2 separate regions of the Homo sapiens genome follow, and region 1 is linked to region 2. The links are contacts of gene promoters, found by promoter capture Hi-C in human tissues and cell types (Jung and others, 2019). All regions are on one chromosome and are shown on one strand. Each heading gives the region's core, a stretch centred on a gene start or on the middle of the fragment in contact. The rest is flanking DNA. Distances are from core to core; before and after follow the strand shown. Region 1 overlaps LINC02680 (long intergenic non-protein coding RNA 2680). Region 2 holds the start of MKX (mohawk homeobox).

Region 1 (4,432 bases), core at 1,365-3,864, 170 kb after region 2:
TGAATGGCTTGGTGCCCTCCCCACAGTCATAAGTTCACATAAGATCTGGTAGTTAAAGATTCTGGAACTTCTTGCACCCTCTGTCTTGCCTCCTCTCTTAAGGTGTGCCACATCCAGCTCCTCTTGCCTTCCACTATGACTGTACGTGTCCTGAGGCCCGCATTAAAAACTGATGCTGGCACCATGCTTCTTGTGCAGCCTGCAGAACCATGAGTCAAATAAGCCTATTTTCCTTGTAAAATTACCCAGTCTCTGCTATTCCTTCATAGCAGTGCAAAATGGACTCATATATCCTTTATAAGACTAATTGCCTCTAAAATCTCCTGCTCCCTTGAAATCACACACAGGTTGGCTAAAAAGCCACATGCTATTCTTTTCCAGACATTTGTAGTCTATGTTTCTATGCTGCGTAAGAAATTACTGCAAACATGGGAGCTTGAATCAGCACACAATTATTACCTCAGAGTTTCTGCAGGTCACACATCTGGATACGGCATAGCTTGGTCCTCCTCAGAAGGTCTTACAAGGCTACATTCAAGGTGTTGGCCAGGACTGGCTCTCAACTGGAGGCTCAGCTAGGGAAGGATTTGCTTCCCAATTCCTTTTGGCAGCAATGAGCTCCATGTGGCTTTAGGAGTTCTGGCAGCTTGCTTCTTCACAGCCAGCAAGGGAGAGAGAACGTCTGTGGAGCCAGCCAGCTAGCAAGACACAGTCATATAACATCACATAATCATGGGAGTGACGTGCCATTCCATTTGTCATATTCTGTTGTTTAGGAGCAAGTCATGGGTCTGGTCTACACCTAAGAAGAAAACAATTACACAAAGGCCTGAATACCAACAGGAAGGGGTCGTGGGACCACCTTTAAGTTTATCTGCCACACCACTACTACGTCAATCCCATAAAATTTCATCTCCCCCAAGCCAATGGACCTACCTCCCAGACCTCCTGATGTTTGGTAGAAGATAACTCTCAGCAGGCTAGAAACATTTGGGGATTTTCATTCAGTAACTGACAAGGAGTGACTGCTTTCTACTTTGATTTAATTATAATATGTCAAAAATTAAATGTCCAGGGATTATTAGGATTTAAGTTTGGATGTATGCAATGGAGACATGAAATAAAGTGACTTAAACCAAACTGAGTTTTATTCCTTTCTTGCAGAAGAGTCCAGAATTAAGCCACTCAAGGGGCTCTATTCCTCGGAGTTACCAGGGACCATGGCTGTTTCTATCTTGTTGCTCTGCTATCCATACAGCATTGTCCTCATGACGTGGTCCAAGACGGTTTGCTGTCAGGTTTATATTTTAGTAGGATACAGGAAGGGAGGAAGGCACATACTGGAAATTTTGTGCACTACTTGCCCTTGAATCTTTTTGACAAATATCACTTATGTAGAAGTACCTACCAAGGGAGACTAAACCATGTAGACTTTATTCCGAGTAGTCATGTCTTTGGCCAAAAGATCAGAGATTCTCTCACCAAAGGAAAATAAATCAGGAGAAATAGAAACCAGAAGACAACCAGGATTAGTGAACTCCACGAAAGTAATTATTTTTTATTTTATTTTATTTTGTTTATTCATTTACTTATTTATTTTGTACAGATGGGGTCTCACTGTTGCCAGGCTGGTCTTGAACTCCTGGCCTCAAGTAATCTTCCTGCCTTGGCCTCCCAAAGTGCTGGGATTCCAGGCAGGAGCCACCACAATCTGCTTAACGTGAATCTCTTTTTTTTTTTTTTTTTTTTTGAGATGGAGTTTTGCTCTTGTTGCCCAGGCTGGTGTGCAATGGCATGATCTCGGCTCACTGCAAACTCTGCCTCCCAGGTTCAAATGATTCTCTTACTTCAAACTCCCAAGTAGCTGAGATTACAGGCATGTGCCATCATGCCCAGCTAATTTTGTATTTTCAGTAGAGATGGAGTTTCATCATGTTGGCCAGGCTGGTCTCCAACTCCTGACGTCACATGATCTGCAGGCATGGCCTCCCAGAGTGCTGGGATTATAGAAGTGAGCCGCTGTGCCCGGCCCTAATGTGAATCTTAACTCCACTTAGGAATCATTTTTCTCCCGGTTTTCCCCTCAGTTAGCTAAAAGAAATCCTTTTATTGAAATATCACCAGACCTACTACATGGCCCAATCAAATTGTGCTCCCTAAAATGAAGTATTTTAAGAACAAAATAAAATATTTTATTTTAAAATAAAAATTTTAAAGGCATTCATTTATTGGACAACAGGGTCAAAGGAAAACGCAAAATGTGTGCCACGATGCTGATCGCAGTTTAATATTTTGGGTTTTCCCACATCCTTTTGGCTTCAGAATTAGGACCTGCCCTTCCCACGTCTCTCCCCTCCATTGTGCTTTCATTGGAAACAGGGATTTACTTCTCTTTGGTTATTCTGAGACCTACAGAGAATAGGACTGGGACCTATTTTGAGAAGTAAAATAAAATAATATTATGAACTGAAATGCTTTTGTGGTCCACTTAGCAGTGATTGGGCAAGAATTTCATCTTAATTTTTTTGTAGTGCTTATGATTTGAGTGCATTTTGGACACATGTTACATTTGCATGGCTCTCCAGGTGACATAATTACAAATTCCTGAACGCTTGATTCTTGGTTGCTCTATGCACCTGCAGAGGAGCCCTAAAGTCATGTGGGAATATAGACGTGTAACATAACAAAGGTATTGAGATACAACCCTAAAAGTTGATAGTGGTTTGCTCTGAGTAGAGGGATGGGGCAGAATTGGAATAAGTGGAGGAGGTCTCATGTGGAAGGCTAAATAATGCCCCCCACAAGAATGTCCACATTCGAATCCCCAGAACCTGTGAATATATTATCTTATGTGGCAAAAGTGACTTTATAGATATAATTAAGTTAAGGATCTTGAGCTGGGGAGAGACTCTTTGGGTGGGCTCTAAATGTAATCACAAGGATCCTTATAAGAGGTAGGCAGAGGGAGATTTTACAAGGAAGAGAAAGTGAGGTGACACTGAGATCAGAGGTAGGAGAGGTGATGTGGTGTGACCACAAGCCAAGGAATGAGGATATCCCGCAAAAGATGAAAAAGCCAAGGAAATGGATTCTCCCCAAAGTCCCCAGTGAGTGCTGCCTGATTGACTTTCTGATTTTGGCCCAGGGAACTCCATTAAAGACTAATGGCCTTCAGAATTGTAAAAAGAATGAATCCAAGTTGCTTTAAGCCACCAGGTTTATGGTAATTTATATGGTGACTAAAGAAGTCACCAGATAATAGAAAAATGGTAGAAAAGAAGCATTTCTTCTATCGCTGCCTCTTATAGAATTTAGCTTCTCCATGATCTCCATCAATAGGGAACTAATATAGTTTAACTTTTTACCTTGATCCCTCCTAAATGTTTGAGTTTTTTTATAACAAGTATATATTATTTTTATAATTAAAAAGTAATAAAGAGGAAAAATGATAATTTCTCATCATTAAAATGATTATTTTAGCTTGTGAATTTTTTAAACATGTGTATTACATGTCCAAAACTAATTTTAAAATGACCTGAAAGATGCAGATTTACATTGTTGTCTCTTGATCATTCCATAGTCTGAGTCGTACAGGTGGATATGAGTATCATGGGGGCCAACCAGCGCTGGAATTTTGCCTTTGGCAACTTTATTTCTGTTTTTGATGTTATTGTATGTTTTTAGCTTGTTTGGTTTCCTGTAATGATGTTTCTGCTGCCATTATAGCATGCTGGTGGTGTATGATGGTCTACCAAGAAGAGAGGACTATGATTTCAATTGTTTCTCTGCATTAACCAGCCACCAAGAATTTCAATGACTTTTTAAAACCAGGGCCAGGCATGGTGGCTCATGCCTGTAATTCCAGCACTTGGGGAGGCTGAGGCAGGAGGATCAGTTGAGGTCAGGAGTTTAAGACCAGCCTGGGCAATATAGCAAGACCTCGTCTCTTTAAAAATGTTTTAAATTACCTGGGCCTAGGGGTGAATGCCTGTAGTCCTAGATACTCTGGAGGCTGAGGTGGGAAGATTGTTTGAGCCCAGGAGTTCCAGGCTGTAGTAAGCTATGATTGTGCCACTACACTCCAGCCTGAGCAATAGAGCAAGGCCTTGTTCATAAAAAATAAAAATAATGAAAAGTTTCAGATTAAAAAAATTGTAGTGAATATAGGCTTTCATTTGATAAGGGTATTCATAACTTTCCTCCTAGTTTTTCCCTTTGCTACTGCTAGTTCAAAGGTCTAGAAATAGCCCCAAGTAAATCTCATCTAGTTTCTTTCCTGGTCTATTTCTTATCTTAACGACTCAGCCCCTGAAGACTGGGGACATCCCCTAGTACTAAACAGCCCCATGCTTCAAAGAAGTCACCAGATAATAGAAAAATGGTAGAAAAGAAGCATTTGTTTTTCCTTCTATCACTGCCTCTTACACACTTT
Region 2 (4,186 bases), core at 452-2,951:
TGTTTCAGGGGTATGTTAGAGCTAATTTCATTACAATTCCCGGTGACTAACACCACTGATAGAGACCATAAAAGAGAAGGTGGCTCTTTTGTCCTATGAATTATCAATTAGATCTGCTTCTGTGGTGAAATTTGTTAGCTGAAAATTGATGGCTGAAACCTTAGGATTTACCCCTGTCTTTAAGCTCCTACAGCGAGGTCTGTAGACCAGAAGCCTGTACTGAACTCACACCACAAGGGCAGCGCCAAAGACAAGATGCAAGCGCTGCAACAGCAAGTTATATAACAAAAGAGAACCGAGGACATCAGAACGTGCTCCAATGATACTTTGTATCTTCCTGGTGCGCAAAAATGTAAACCGGCCTTCCTTTATGGTTTACATTGTACCCCTGCACAACGGTTTGCTATCGCGTAATTTGGGAGGTGACACATATGAAATTTGAGGGTGTGATTAGTCTTTAAAATAATAGTTTTGGTATATATTTTAAGCACTTCTAGCGACCCCCCCAACACACAAACACACACACACACACGCGCACACACACACACACACACGAAGAAGATGCTAAGGTGGGCCACTGCCCCGGCTCTGGCCAGCCGCATTTAGAGGGGAAAAGGACAAATGGCGCTATTTCTTTAAGCTTGGTGGGGGGAAATCTAAGTTTGTTCTTTAAAAAGGGCGAAAGTTCGCTAGGACCACAGGGCCTTCGGCGAGAGCGCAGGCAGCTTCGTGTTGGCACCTTGGGGATCTTCTGGGCTGCCAGAAGCTCTGAGCTTGCAGTTGCACCTAAACCGCCGCTTTCGCTACTTATATTTGCGGTAATGTTAGGAAGCAAAGTATCATCAATCAGAGAATCTGGTAGCCATTCTCTCTCTTTGCCCTGTGTCCCAGCTTGTGATTCTTCTAAGTTCCATCTCCTTTGCTGCGTGCAGATCCTTGGCTTTGGGCGCGCTTCCTCTTCTGCACTTGGGCCACCGCGGGTTGGCCACCTGGGCTGAACTCATCCCATCCTTGCTTTCCCCCATCCCTATACCCAGCGGCGAGGGCAGCCTCACCAGCCCTTGCCCCGGAGGTGAATGTGTGCCTGGCTTTGACTGAGACAACTAGGACCCCAGAAGCCCAGTGACATCAGAAAAGAGGCTCCTGGGCACTAGCACTTCCCGCAATACGCTCCAGGGCTGTAGGTGCAAAACGGAGCTCTAACTTCCCTCCAGCTAATCGAGAGGAAAATACAGGGCGCGTCACAGTGGCCTCTCCCGCCTAGCCACGCGCAGTGAAATTTCCGGCAATCGGGCCAGCTAAGACACGGGATTTGCACCGCAGCCTCTCAGCTTCTGGAGCCGGAGCCGAGCGCTCCCGGCAGCTTCTCCAATTTCTCTCCTAAAGTGCGAAGGGAAAAGCCCCGTCTGCTCCACGACTGCAAGGCCGGCGGATCTGGGAGCCGCGCCCGGCTCCGGAGGACTCGGCGGGCCCGGGGCTCCCCGGCAGCGGCTCCTCTGCTAGGGGTTAACAGCAGCCCCCGCGGCCGGGCGGGCGCGGACGCTTCCTCTCCACCCGCCCGGGAACGTGGATACCGCGCCCGCAGGATGTTCGCCGGCTGGGACCGGCAGTCAGGAAACATGAGAAGGCCTCGCTATTCCTGTTCCCGGGCGGCGCGCGCCGGGCTGGGTAAATAAAGCCGAGACGACGGCGGTGGCGGTGGTGAGCGCGCTGGAGCCCGCGTGGAGAACATGCGGCGGGGATGGGAGTGCGCCTAGTCTCGAGGCGGGAGAGCCAGCCGCCCTGCAGCCGGCCGTCGGCCCCGCAGCCACAGGTACAGCCCCCGCGTCGCCGAGTCTCAGCCGGCTGCGGCGGAACGCCAGGCTCGCTCTGGCCCCTGCGCCCTGGGCGCCGGTGCTCTCCCGCCCTTCCCCCAACTTCCCTCCAAGGTCTGGTGGAGAGGCGCTCGGGTAGCGGCCAAGGCTGGCCCAAGGGTCTGCGCGGAGCTTGGGAGCCCACCTGGCCGCGCCTCCTTTGCTTTAAAATTATTCGCCGGCGTTGGGGGAGGGGGACACTTCTGCAGGGAGTGACCTCCCCGGCCACAGTCTGGAGTGAATCGGGGTAAGTGATTTGAGAAGAGGCGCGGGTGGCCGCGCGCGGGAGTCCTGGGAGGGTCAGCAAGTGTGGTTCACACGCCCCCGGACCCCTTGCGACAGGACAGCGCTCGGACCTTTGCCATCGCTTGCCTCTGAGCCTGCTGCCTGCAGACCTACAGCGCGCCGGGTGTCTGTGTCTGCGATCTCTGCGTGGGCTTGGGGCTGCCGGGGAAGTGTCCGAGGTGGCTAACCTCGTGATGACTTCGCTAGGAAAAACACGTCGTCGCATCTAGGAGGACGCGCTGGGGTGGCTCGGAGAAGGCCGGGCCGGGGAAGGGTGTCTTGTACAAATAAAGCAGCATGAACACACATCCCTAAGGGCATGATTTTAAAAGAAAACACCAACGCGAGTCTTGACTGTAGAACAGGGGCTGCAAGCACGAAAATTCTCTTTGACACTTATCACCGAGGCTATGTGCACACCCCAGGCACGTACCTGTCTGCGCGGGAGGACGCAGTCCTAGGGGACACACGACATCCAGCAGAGGTCTGACTTCACTTCCCTACGAACACAGACCGTAGCCGTCGTTTGATCGCGGTGGTCACGCGTGGTCCTAAATGTCACGCGTGGCCTCTGCTGCGGTGGCCGAAGGGCGGGGCGGGGGCGTTGGCGAGTGTGGGCGCTTGGCGAGGCAAAGGGTGTGTGTGTGTGTGTGTGTGTGTGTGTGTGTGTATGCGCGCGCGCGTGTGTTAGTGGAGTAGCAGCCCATGCCGCGGCTGGACGGGCAAAGGGGGCGCTGGCAGCGAAGCTGAGGCCGCTCGGAGGAAACGGGAGCTGTCCCGAGGCGCGAGGCGAGGAGATGGGGCGGGCGAAGTCCGCCGCGCGCCTTGGGGCTGTAACTCTGCGGCTCCGCGGCCGCGCGGACTTGCTCCTGACGCCGGTGCGCGGCAGGCAGAGGCTCAGGGCCTCCGCGACCCCAGAGGTGAGCTGCTGGCTCTCCCCGACAGTGGCAGCAGTGGCCCGGGAGGTGCGCCGACCAAGCTGCCTCCTGCCTTGGGCTTCTGACACCTTTACAGCCTCTGAAAGGGTCCCCGGAGACCCCAGAGAGAGGCGGGTGTCGAGGGGCTACGAGCTCGCGGCTGACACCCGCGCTGCGGAAGAGAATGGCACTGATTGAGGGCTCTGGGGACCTGGGTCCTGGCGCCTTGGACCTTAGGACCATGCACTTCCCGGGGCGCGTTGGGGGATGATAGGAAGATTCTGGGAGAGAAGGGGGAGAAGTGGTGCTTTCGTCCTGACGCCACTTAACTTTTTCCTGTCCTTGAACCCAACCTCACCCCGGGGGACCTTGGCGGACAGAAGATGCGGGGGTTTCAACCAAACCATCCACGATCTAGAAAACACGAAAATCCCCCAAATCCCGGTATGGCCTGGGACTCATGAGCTGGGGGGTCTTGTGGATACGGTTGGCACATTACCCCAAATCTTCCCTTCCATCCAACCCCTCCTGACGCCCCGAGTTGGGGTTCCTAGAGGCTTTAGTCTTCTGCTGTGATTGAAGAACCACGCGCGGCCTCACGCCGGTCGCGCTCCGCAGTCCGGAGTATGCCTCTCCCAGATTCAAACTGAAACCCAGAGGCTCGTTTGGGAATTCGTTTCCTTTGCCTCTGCGGGTGAATGATTCCCGGTTGTAGTTCTGGGGAGTGAAGGGATTGGGGGGATCGATCGCCCAGGCAAGGAAGAGGGCAGGTACCTGTCCGGGGAACCTGCAGGGGCGGGGGCGTGTAGCCAACTGGGGAGAGCCGCAGGGTCCCTGCCAGTTGCGGCGGCGCCGCTCCTCCCCTCGGCTCCGCAGCCCGGCGACCCGGCCAAGTTCAAGGCCCTGAACCTGCAGGGGTCTGAGCACTCTCAGCCAGTAAGTAACGAGATGCACCTTCCTCTCCTAGAAGCCGAGCCCCGCTGCGGAGCTCCCGGCGGCCCAGCCCCGAGGCTCTGCGGCCGCGCCGCGCGTCCCTACCAACCGACACCATGAACACCATCGTCTTCAACAAGCTCAGCGGTGCGGTGCTGTTTGAGGACGGAGGCGCCTCGGAGCGGGAGCGGGGTGGCC

What was found. Contacts are between HindIII fragments. The study calls those that stand out against the background at their distance.
Region 1: a contact is called between a fragment that was not itself captured here and the fragment with the promoter of MKX in region 2, in 2 of the 25 tissues and cell types used here (neural progenitor cells and spleen).

What each region holds. Positions count from the first base shown.
Region 1 is chr10:27,574,741-27,579,172 of GRCh38, reverse strand. It overlaps LINC02680 (long intergenic non-protein coding RNA 2680), which reads right to left. Exons shown (of 3, transcript XR_007062094.1): 3 at 1-802. Among named protein-coding and RNA genes, the nearest start is that of LINC02680, 11 kb to the right of the region's middle. The HindIII fragment of the contact is 7,453 bases long and covers 1-4,432 here.
Region 2 is chr10:27,743,334-27,747,519 of GRCh38, reverse strand. It overlaps MKX (mohawk homeobox), which reads left to right and starts at 1,701. Exons shown (of 7, transcript NM_173576.3): 1 at 1,701-1,813; 2 at 4,023-4,186. The coding sequence starts at 4,105. It overlaps MKX-AS1 (MKX antisense RNA 1), which reads right to left and starts at 2,905. Exons shown (of 2, transcript NR_121652.1): 1 at 2,572-2,905. RefSeq lists an enhancer at 1,620-2,210. The HindIII fragment of the contact is 9,708 bases long and covers 8-4,186 here.